Linked DNA regions of Homo sapiens: regions 1 and 3 are each linked to region 2. Evidence: promoter capture Hi-C in 16 types of primary human blood cells and fetal thymus (Javierre and others, 2016). All regions are on one chromosome and are shown on one strand. The core of a region is centred on a gene start or on the middle of the fragment in contact, and the rest is flanking DNA. Distances in the headings are between cores, read along the strand shown.

The links. Contacts are between HindIII fragments. The CHiCAGO score rates a contact against its expected background, and 5 or more counts as called.
Region 1: a contact is called between a fragment that was not itself captured here and the fragment with the promoter of TAFA4 in region 2, in 3 of 17 cell types (naive B cells, total CD4 T cells and total B cells). The highest score is 6.4, in naive B cells.
Region 3: a fragment that was not itself captured here is called in contact with the fragment with the promoter of TAFA4 in region 2 in 1 of 17 cell types (total CD8 T cells); the score reaches 5.2 in total CD8 T cells.

What each region holds. Positions count from the first base shown.
Region 1 is chr3:66,883,694-66,886,774 of GRCh38, forward strand. All of the region lies in intron 1 of LOC105377144 (a long non-coding RNA gene), which reads right to left. Among named protein-coding and RNA genes, the nearest start is that of KBTBD8, 110 kb to the right of the region's middle. The HindIII fragment of the contact is 3,901 bases long and covers 1-3,081 here.
Region 2 is chr3:68,930,962-68,933,985 of GRCh38, forward strand. TAFA4 (TAFA chemokine like family member 4) reads right to left here and starts at 1,586. Exons shown (of 6, transcript NM_182522.5): 1 at 1,279-1,586. The HindIII fragment of the contact is 2,333 bases long and covers 725-3,024 here.
Region 3 is chr3:66,858,643-66,861,691 of GRCh38, forward strand. The region is part of intron 2 of LOC105377144 (a long non-coding RNA gene); the gene reads right to left. Among named protein-coding and RNA genes, the nearest start is that of KBTBD8, 140 kb to the right of the region's middle. The HindIII fragment of the contact is 5,395 bases long and covers 1-3,049 here.

The DNA.
Region 1 (3,081 bases), core at 406-2,905, 2.0 Mb before region 2:
CTATTCGGGGCTTTGACCTTTGACCTAAGTTTTTCCCTTCCCTCTGTAGGTATTGTGGGTAAGTAGAAGAGCAAAAGGCTTACTCTTTGTCTTAGGGATACCTAATGGTGTTGCATATAAGGGGGTATAAGTCACACCCCCTGGAGTTGTGGCCTGCAGTCTGCAGAGTTTGGCCTACTTTTCCCCCACACCCTTGGCACAGTGCAGCTGCATGGTCCTGGGGACACAGTGCTAACTGGACAGCAGGGTTGCTATGAGATTGTGCATGGGAAGACAAGGAACTCATAGAGTTAAGATGGCTTCACAGCCTGTGCCCTCACTTGGCTGTCTGGACCCTAGCCTTTCATAGTACAGCACTTTGCACATACGTCTAACAAGATCACCTGGGAAACTTGCAAATACGTGGTAGGTCTGGAGTGGGGCTGAGATTGTGTATTTCTAACAAGTTCCTAGGGGATCACACTTGGAATAGTGAGGCTCTAACCTTTTCATGTTAGTTTATTTGTCTGTTTCCCCAGTTGTCTCTGGGCAAAATGAAGGCAGGGGACAGGACCTTGTCTTATTCTCTTTCTGAGGGGTTTAGTACAGAGGTGACATATAGGTTGAAAGTAAATGCTTAAGAAGTGTAAGGAAGGAAAAAGGAAGGAAGGAGAGACGGAAGGAAGCAAGGAGGAAACAAAAGAAGGAAGGTCCGGGCATGGTGGCTCACACCTGTAATCCCAGTACTTTGGGAGGCTGAAATGGGTGGATCTCTTGGGCCCAAGAGTTTGATGCCAGCCTAGGCAAAGGACAAAACCCCATCTCTACAAAAAATACAAAAAATTAGCTGGGCATGGTGGCACTCACCTGGGGTCTCACCTACTCGGGAGGCTGAGTTGGGAGGATCACCTGAGCGTGGGGAGGTTGAGGGTGTCGTGACCTGTGATCATGCCACTGTACTACAGCCTGGGTGACAGAGCAAGATGCTGAGAAAAAGAAGGAAGGAAGAAAGGAAGGAAGGAAGGAAGGAAGGAAGGAAGGAAGGAAAGGGAAGAGAAGGAGGGAGGTGAGGGGAGGGACAGAAGGGAGGGAGGGAGGGAGGGAAAGGAGGGGAGGGGAGGGGACAGAGGAAAGAGGAGAGTGGGGAGAGGGAAGGAGGGGAAGGAGAGAATGGAAAGAAAGGAGAGAAAAGAAAGGTATGTAGTTTTGAGCAGAAAGGGGTTGTACACTGAAGGCGTGTAAGCATGTAGTTGTCATAACTGGACAGATTTTCCAGATACATTTCTGCCTCTAAGATCAAAGTTTCTTCCCTCTCTGAGACTCAAGGAAGGCACTCCGCCAGAAAAAGGAGAGGAAATAGAAGTCACCAAGCTGACCACTAATCAAGAGACTGAAGTTTGTCTCCAAGAGACAATTCTCTAATTTCTACAAAATGAGAACATTTACTGTATAATGAAATTCATTGTGCAGAACATCTCCTGAGCATAAAAATCTACAAGACGTAGACAGCTGCTCATAGGGCCATTTTTAAACACCTTCTTTTGGAGTAGGCTGTTCTTTGACATGGACTGCAAAGTTTTACTTATGCAGTTATTTTATCACCTTTATCGCAAATGCATAAAAAGTAAAGACTCAAGGAAAGAAGGAAGGTTCTAAAAATATTCTTCATAGAGGCAGACACAAACTGGGGTTGAAAAGCCCAATTATCTTCTGTCACTTATATCACTCTAGTTGGAAACAGCTTTAACATCGGGAGTGACCACATATTACCTATCCTGCTCAGAGTCACCACTGCATTTACTTTCTAGTAGATGATTTAACAGACAGACAGAGAATGTGAGTGCCACTGGTTAGAACATGGTTTCTAGGTGTCACACTATTTCATCAGGCAATGATGAATCACACTGCGGCTCTCACATCGACTTTCCCACGACCTCTGAGCAACTAGAGAAAGCCAAAGAACAATTCTGGGAGTTTGATTTCCCTAACAAAGCAACAGAAGGCCCAGATTAAACTGGCCTCTTTGAAACTTAAAAGGAACCACCATTTTGTCACCTTTTAGGGGGGCAAGCTGATTAATGGGCAGCGAATAATCACAAGAGAATTCACTGATTAAATGTGTAGCCATTGTAAATGCAGATCCAAACCCTTAGAAAGAAATAAATGCAGACCCTTCTTGAGTTTCGCTGATTCTGCTCATATGTTTTGTATTTACAAAGAAAATAAAAATTGTCAAGGCAATTTTTAAGGAAGAGCTTAAGAGGAAAAAGCAAACCTTTAGCACAAGTTGCAAATGCAGTTAGCTTATTAAACATTATCTTATTCAACCCATCTTATGCCACATCCCAAAAAGGGCACAGAAACTGGAAAAAAAGCAACCCATCCTGACTCAAATGTCAACTAAAATGTCTGAAAGTTTCCATGATGATGTTGATAATGGTGATGATGACAGCAACTAAGTTGTCATCAACTGGATACTCTAAGTATTCTTCATATATTAAGTTGTCTACTCCTCAACAAAATATAAAATAGATGCTTATTAACTCCATTTTTACAGATGAGGAATCTGAGACATACAGAGTTTAAGTAACTTGTCTAAAATTACATAGGCGGTTAATGGCACAATTTACTCAACTTTGGGTAATGTGGCCTTGGTACATGTGCTTTTGAGTCCTCCTAGCATTGATATTGATGATATGAATAAACTAAATGATGTGCTCCCATGACACTGCAGTTTCCATGGTATTTACTTCAACTGTCTATGAAGTAGCTCTCCTGGCTCTAATAGTCCATAAGACTGTAAACCTCATGGAATAGTCCCATTCCATGAGCAATGGTTCAATAGGCAAATGACTTTAGTTGAGTGGTTCAGTCCATATCAATCTAATAATAAGTGCCTATTAAGTCCTGGTTGTGGCACAAGAGAGGAGAGAGGATGGTGAGGGGAGAACATTAAAGAAACATAGAAAGATGGCCCTGTCCTTATGTCACATCTTCTAAAAGATGTGCTTGAATTAAAGATGCTTGGATTTTGAGAGGTTTTGCCAAAGAGTACTGTATTACCACTATAAAGGGAAGCCAAGAGTGATAGAGGTAATTTTC
Region 2 (3,024 bases), core at 336-2,835:
ACTGCCCCCACCTCTTCCCTCCTCAGCGAGTGTTCTAGAGGGGGCCAAACGAAGATGCGTGTGATTAGGAAGCTAGGCCATCAGTGTGCACAAGTTTGGGTGACCGAGTCTGCAGGTGGCAGCTACGAGTTATGGTGGACAAGCTTTATGCCAAGGATATTAGAGACAGAAACAGACCAAAGCTTCGAAGGCGCCCATCCCCACACACGGGGATCGCCTGTCACATCACATCAACCTTGCTTGTCTCAGAGGGAAGACCATTGAAAAGTTAAAAGGGAAAAGAGTTCAGGGATAAAGACGTTAAACCAAAGGGGGGTCCCTGAATCTCGGTGACGGGGGATGGGCACCAGGCTAGGTCTCGGCGAGTCCGTGAACCCGTGCATGTACATACTGCTTAGGAGCTGATTCACAGCTTTACTAAGGCTCCGTGGAGCCCCTAAACGTTAAATGATGCTGATTCGAGAAGAAAACGCACCAGCGGCACTGTGTCTGGCTTGGGCAGCCTCACCAGGTGCAGGAGATCAAGCTTTCCAGTTCCAATCCTCTCCCGAGCTCCTTGCGTAGGGTCAAGGATGCCCTCTCTTCTAGGAGCGGATTAACAGGGCAAAGTGGGAAAAAGAGCGAAAGAAATGTAGAGATGCCACCTTGGTGGGCAAATCTGAGATGCCTCCCGCGGAAAGAGACGCAACTTCCAGACCCGCTCCAGTTCTCCACTTGGGCGGGAAGCTTTGCGCTCCCAGCTGGAAGACGCCTCCCGAGCGCTCGCTGCGCCCTTCAAGCAAGATCCTAGCAACCAGAGCTTCAGGGTGGGGGTGGGGGCGGGGGGACGCTGACCGGCTCCCACCTGCTTGCTCCTAGAAAGATCCTAGCTCAGATTAAAGGGATGAAGCGCTAAGGTCGACTTGTCCAGAAAAGAGCTCACGGTGAGTTCACCACCCCCTATACCAATTCATCGAGTGGCCTCCTCCGCATCAGCAGAGCACCCCCGGGGATTCTGTCAGACATGAACCCCGAAACTGGAAGCGGCCGCTGCCTCTCTCCAGCCACACATCCTTACTTCGGAGTGCCCCTTCCAACTTCGGGTTGCACGCCGACCTCAGCACAGGCACTCTCCCCGGCGCCCCAGAGAGCCGGGATGAGGGGAGCTGCACCGAGCTGAGTTAACTCGGTACCAGCCGAGAGGCAGCGGCTGCCCACGAGACAGCACCTAAATACAGGGTCCAAATCCACCCCCACCCCATCCTCTCGCCCCTCCTTATCCCTTCCAACCCTTCTTACTCGACTAGAGCCGGCATCCAAGTCGGACCGGCGCGTCCGGAACTAGGTACTGATCGCCGCACCGGAGCCCGAGGACGCTCACCGTGCCGCCTCCCCGCGGGAGCCCCGGGAGCGGCCCATCACCTCTGCAGCCTCGCCAGGAGAAGAAAAGTTCCCACGTCTCTACCAGGAGAAGCCCGAAGCTCCTGCGGGAGAAGCCTGAAGCTGCTGCTGGAGAAGCGGCAGCTGAGGCAGGACTCCCGATGTTTGCCCGCAGCCGCGCGCGCAGTCGGTGCGCCCCGTCCAGGGCGGCGCGCAGCTAGCAGTGCGGAGCCGAGCCCAGCTAGCGCGCTGACCAGGAGGGGCCGGGCCCGCCGCGGAACGCGCTGATTGGCCGGGCCGCCCGGCTGCTCCTGTCCCTGCCTGGCCCCGCGGTCCACGTGGGCCGGCCTTCTCCCCGCCCCGCACCCCTGCTCAGGCGGCGCGCCCCCACTGCCGGCCTCCAGGCGCCTCTCCCGAGCGCCTCGCTGTGGCCACCACTCCGCAGGTGCTGAGCAAAAGGTATTCTTCCTGAATACCTGAGAGTCGCGTTGAGCTCCACATAAGGAAGACGGATTTAGGGTTCGGCTCTCACTCGAAACCATTCTCCACGCAGGACCCAAAGCGGTTTGCAAGCAGGATTTCTTAGCCACCCCGTGCAGTAGCACATTCATGAACTAATCTGGCTTCGCGTGTAATGTGCTTGTATGAGAGAGGAGAAAACTCGGCCCACGTATGAATACCTAAATACTTTTCTTTTTTAATGTATAAAATACAGCTGGGGCCGGGCTCGGTTGCTCACGCCTGTAATCCCAGCACTTTGGGAGGCTGAGGCGGGTGGATCATGAGGTCGGGAGATCGAGACCATCCTGACTAACACGGTGAAACCCCGTCTCTACTAAAAATACAAAAATTAGCCAGGCGTGGTGGCGGGTGCTTGTAGTCCCAGCTACTCGGGAGGCTGAGGCAGGAGAATGGCGTGAACCGGGGAGGCGGAGCTTGCAGTGAGCCGAGATCGCACCACTGCACTCCAGCCTGGTCGACAGAGCGAGACTTCGTCTCAAAAAAAAAAAAAAAAAAAAAAAAAATTCAGCTAAGACTTCTTTGACTCCCTCCTCCCACCCCATTCCTAGTCATGCCCTCCACTCTTCCGCAAGTGAAGTAACTGATAATCAGTGTCACTTAATGGTATTCATTTTACTGGGATTAGTTCATCTGATCTCTATTTTATAGATGAGATAACTGAAGCACAGAGAAGTTAAATCGTTTACTGAAGATTACACAGGTAACTAGTAAATCCATGCTCTTTAGTATGCAAAGCATGGCGTCGTAGAGCGGTCCCTTGAGAACACTTTAGAACTGCAGACTTTCAGGCCCCACCCCAGAAGTAGAATCTTCATTTTAACAAGATGCCCAAGTGGCTGGTGCATGCATAAAGTTAGAAAACGTTGCTCTGTACCACTATGCTGCTCACTGTCATTGGCTTGGCTTATCATCTTCTGGTCCTTTTACTCTGCATTGACATACAATTATGTGCCATCCTGCCCCTGCTGCACTCCAAAGTATGTTCACCCTTCTCTGACTCTACCCCTTGAACTAACGTATGGCAGGCCTTCTGCTTCTGTTCCCCGTACCACACATACCATAGCACATTTTACTTGTTAAACAGTTTCAATCTCTTACTCTCTTATTATTAAAATGGGGGTTCTACATTCAAAGGCAATTTGT
Region 3 (3,049 bases), core at 267-2,766, 2.1 Mb before region 2:
TAAGGCAAGAACGTGGGATACAGAAAGGCCTCTGTCCTTGCAATAAGGCAGAGGGTCTAATTGAGCTGACTAACACAAGCCACCGGCAGATGATAAAATTGAAAGCGCGCACTGTAACACACACTCACTGGGGCCTCCAGAGCTGTAAACGCTCAAGCCTAGACGCTGCTGCGGGATCAGCACTCCCCACAATCGTACCGTCTGCATGCTCCCCCTAGAGGTAGGAGCAGGGGGGCACCAGCGAAGCGAGCCACACCCCCATCGCTTGCCCTGCAAGGGGGATAAGGAAACTTTCTCTGTTTCAAAAGGTGATGCCAATGCCACGGATTCCCGCAGTGGAGGAGTCTAGCTGTTGGTGCCTTACATGGGTCCACTGGGATTCCTTTTACCAGGTTCAGTGTGCCCATTCCCCAGTGGTTATCTGTTTTGCTGCTAAAGTCTCTGAAGGACTGACCTTGGGCTATTGTTAATGTCTTGCCCCTCTCCACCACCTCATTCTCTGCAGTTGGTATCCAGTGACTCATAGATACAGAGGCACAAAAGCCCAGCCCCCTTGCCGCAAAGAGGGCCAAACTCAGGGTATAGTTTCTGCTTCGGAGCTCCTCAGCAGAGTGGGAGCAGGCTGGAGATAACCTCATCTGAAACCACATACCTTACTCTATCTTGCTTCCCTCACTTCCTGAAAGATTTCTCCAGAGGGCATTGCCTTGTACTTCCATATGAAACCCTATCTCAAGCCAGGCTTCCAGGAAACCCACTACAGACATTTGCAGGCCATACCCTGACAAGCAAGTCTAGAGTGCTCTAGAGGGAGCTAAAGCTGAATAGTGGACTTGGGGTCAAGAAAATTGGGTTTTTAAAAATTTAACCAACATTTTAGGCCAGGAGCTGTTACATGTTCTTTTAAAATATTAATCGAATCTTCACTCAGTGAAGTAGGAAACTGAAGTAGAAGCTGTAATTAGCGCCATTTTGCAAATGAAGAAACCAAGAGAACAAAATAAAAACATCCAAGGTTATCCACTAGAAAGTGGCAGAGCTGGGAAATGAACGCAGACAGACTGGTTCCATAGTCTGTGCTTCCAGTGCTAAATGCCCACTTCTTGCTTCAGTGACTGTGGGATGAACTTTTCAGACCCTCTAATGCTCCTCTGTGAAATAGGGTATATTATCTACTTTTCGGATTATTCAAGGATTAAGTGAGATACTTTATATAAAGTGCCCAGTACAGAGCTGGGCACATTTTAGGTACATCGTTGACCTCATTAAACTAGTTTCTTTGTTATTCACCTGGGATATCTGTCTCATCTCTGCCAACCAAGACCCACAACAGGTTTTAAAGACTATTGGCCAGCCTGATGTAGTATGTATGTTCTTTTGGTGAACAGCCTTCAGTTTCAGGCCTGTTTGCTTCTCATAGAGGTTGAACTTTTTGACCATACTTGTCAAAAGCCCTACCAGATTAGGTTCCCAGTGCTTTACTAGAGAACATAAAATCCAAGTTGAGTTCTGACATGCTGAGATTTCACTCTTCAGAAAGCTGATGGAAAATGTCTCTTATTTGGAGTGGGGAGATGGTTCCTGAGGGGCAACATGCAGGCCCTAGAAACATGTCAGGGTCTTTACATGGACCAAAGCCTGATTCAAAATGGCATGTGGGAAACTACGTTGATGGATGTTAACTTCCCAGTACACTAAGAGGAGAGTTCTCCTAGAAGCCATAGAAAAGAAAGGCTCATAGGCCTACTTAAGAATCAGGAAGCACCTGGTTTGAATTAATCTAGAATGCTTAACAAAGAGTAAGAAGAGAGAGATGAGGACACTAACACTTAGATTAGGCTGGAAGGACACCTAGAATATGCAATTTTTTTTTTTCTGGAACAGTGTCTCCCTGTGTCATTAGCATCTCCCTGTGTCATTAGCAATAATGGTTCACTGCAGCCTTGACCTCCTGGGTTCAAGTGATCCTCCCACTTCAGCCTCCTGAGTAGCGGGACTACAGGCAGGTGCCACCACACCCAGCTAATTTTTTTGGTAGAGATGGAGTTTTGCCATGTTGTCTAGGCTGGTATCGAACTCCTGAGCTTGAGCATTCTGCCTGCCTCAGCCTCCCAAAGTGCTGGGACTACAGGCGTGAGCCACTGCACCTGACCATGGACATGCCACGTTTATATGTCCTACTCTAGGCTAGGAGCTGTGTTGCATCAGCCTTGCCCACTGGCCAGAAGGACCAGAGTTAAAGTTTGAGTGAAGGGCCTGGCAGGTGGAAGGAGCTCAGAGCCAACATGCTCGCTCTGTGGGAGAGGTGCACGGTCAAGTGCACCGGGCTATAGATGTGACTCATCAATCAGCCAGTGCTTTGTGGGCAGAGGAGATGAGGGGCCAGAATGCGTGTCACCAATTTCAGCATCACAGATATTGAGAGCTTCCAGAGCCTCACGTTTATTTGGTGTAGTGTGAATATTTGGTGCTTCAGAGACATTTAAGGTTTTCTTGGTCCTTCTATGCCTTCTTATATAGGTTAAGCACACTTGTGCTCAGCTTACATTTTCTATGACAGGGGTGTCCGGTCTTTTGGCTTCCCTGGGCCACACTGGAAGAATTGTCTTGGGCCACACATAAAATACACTAACACTAATAATAGCTAAATCGCAAAAAAAACCACTCACAATGTTTTTAGAAAGTTTACAAATTTGTGTTGGGCCGCACTCAAAGCCATCTTGGCCTGCATGTGGGCCATAGGCCACAGGTTGGACAACGTCGTTCTATGCCTAACACATCGTAAGATATTTGTTTCTGTACCTAATTCTATCTATCCTTTTTTACTTGTTTCCTATTGCAGAATCAAATATTCTCTAATATAACATATATAATGAGGATATTCAACATGGAAAAATTAGTTTATAAAATAAATGCTGGCAAAAAGAGATGCTGGAAGATCTCAAATGGGATGGTGAGACAACTCAGGGATTAATAAAATGGAAGTATCTACCATCCTTCGGGCTGAGGGACAAGGTGAAGAGATGCTTGATACCAGAATCCAGCAATC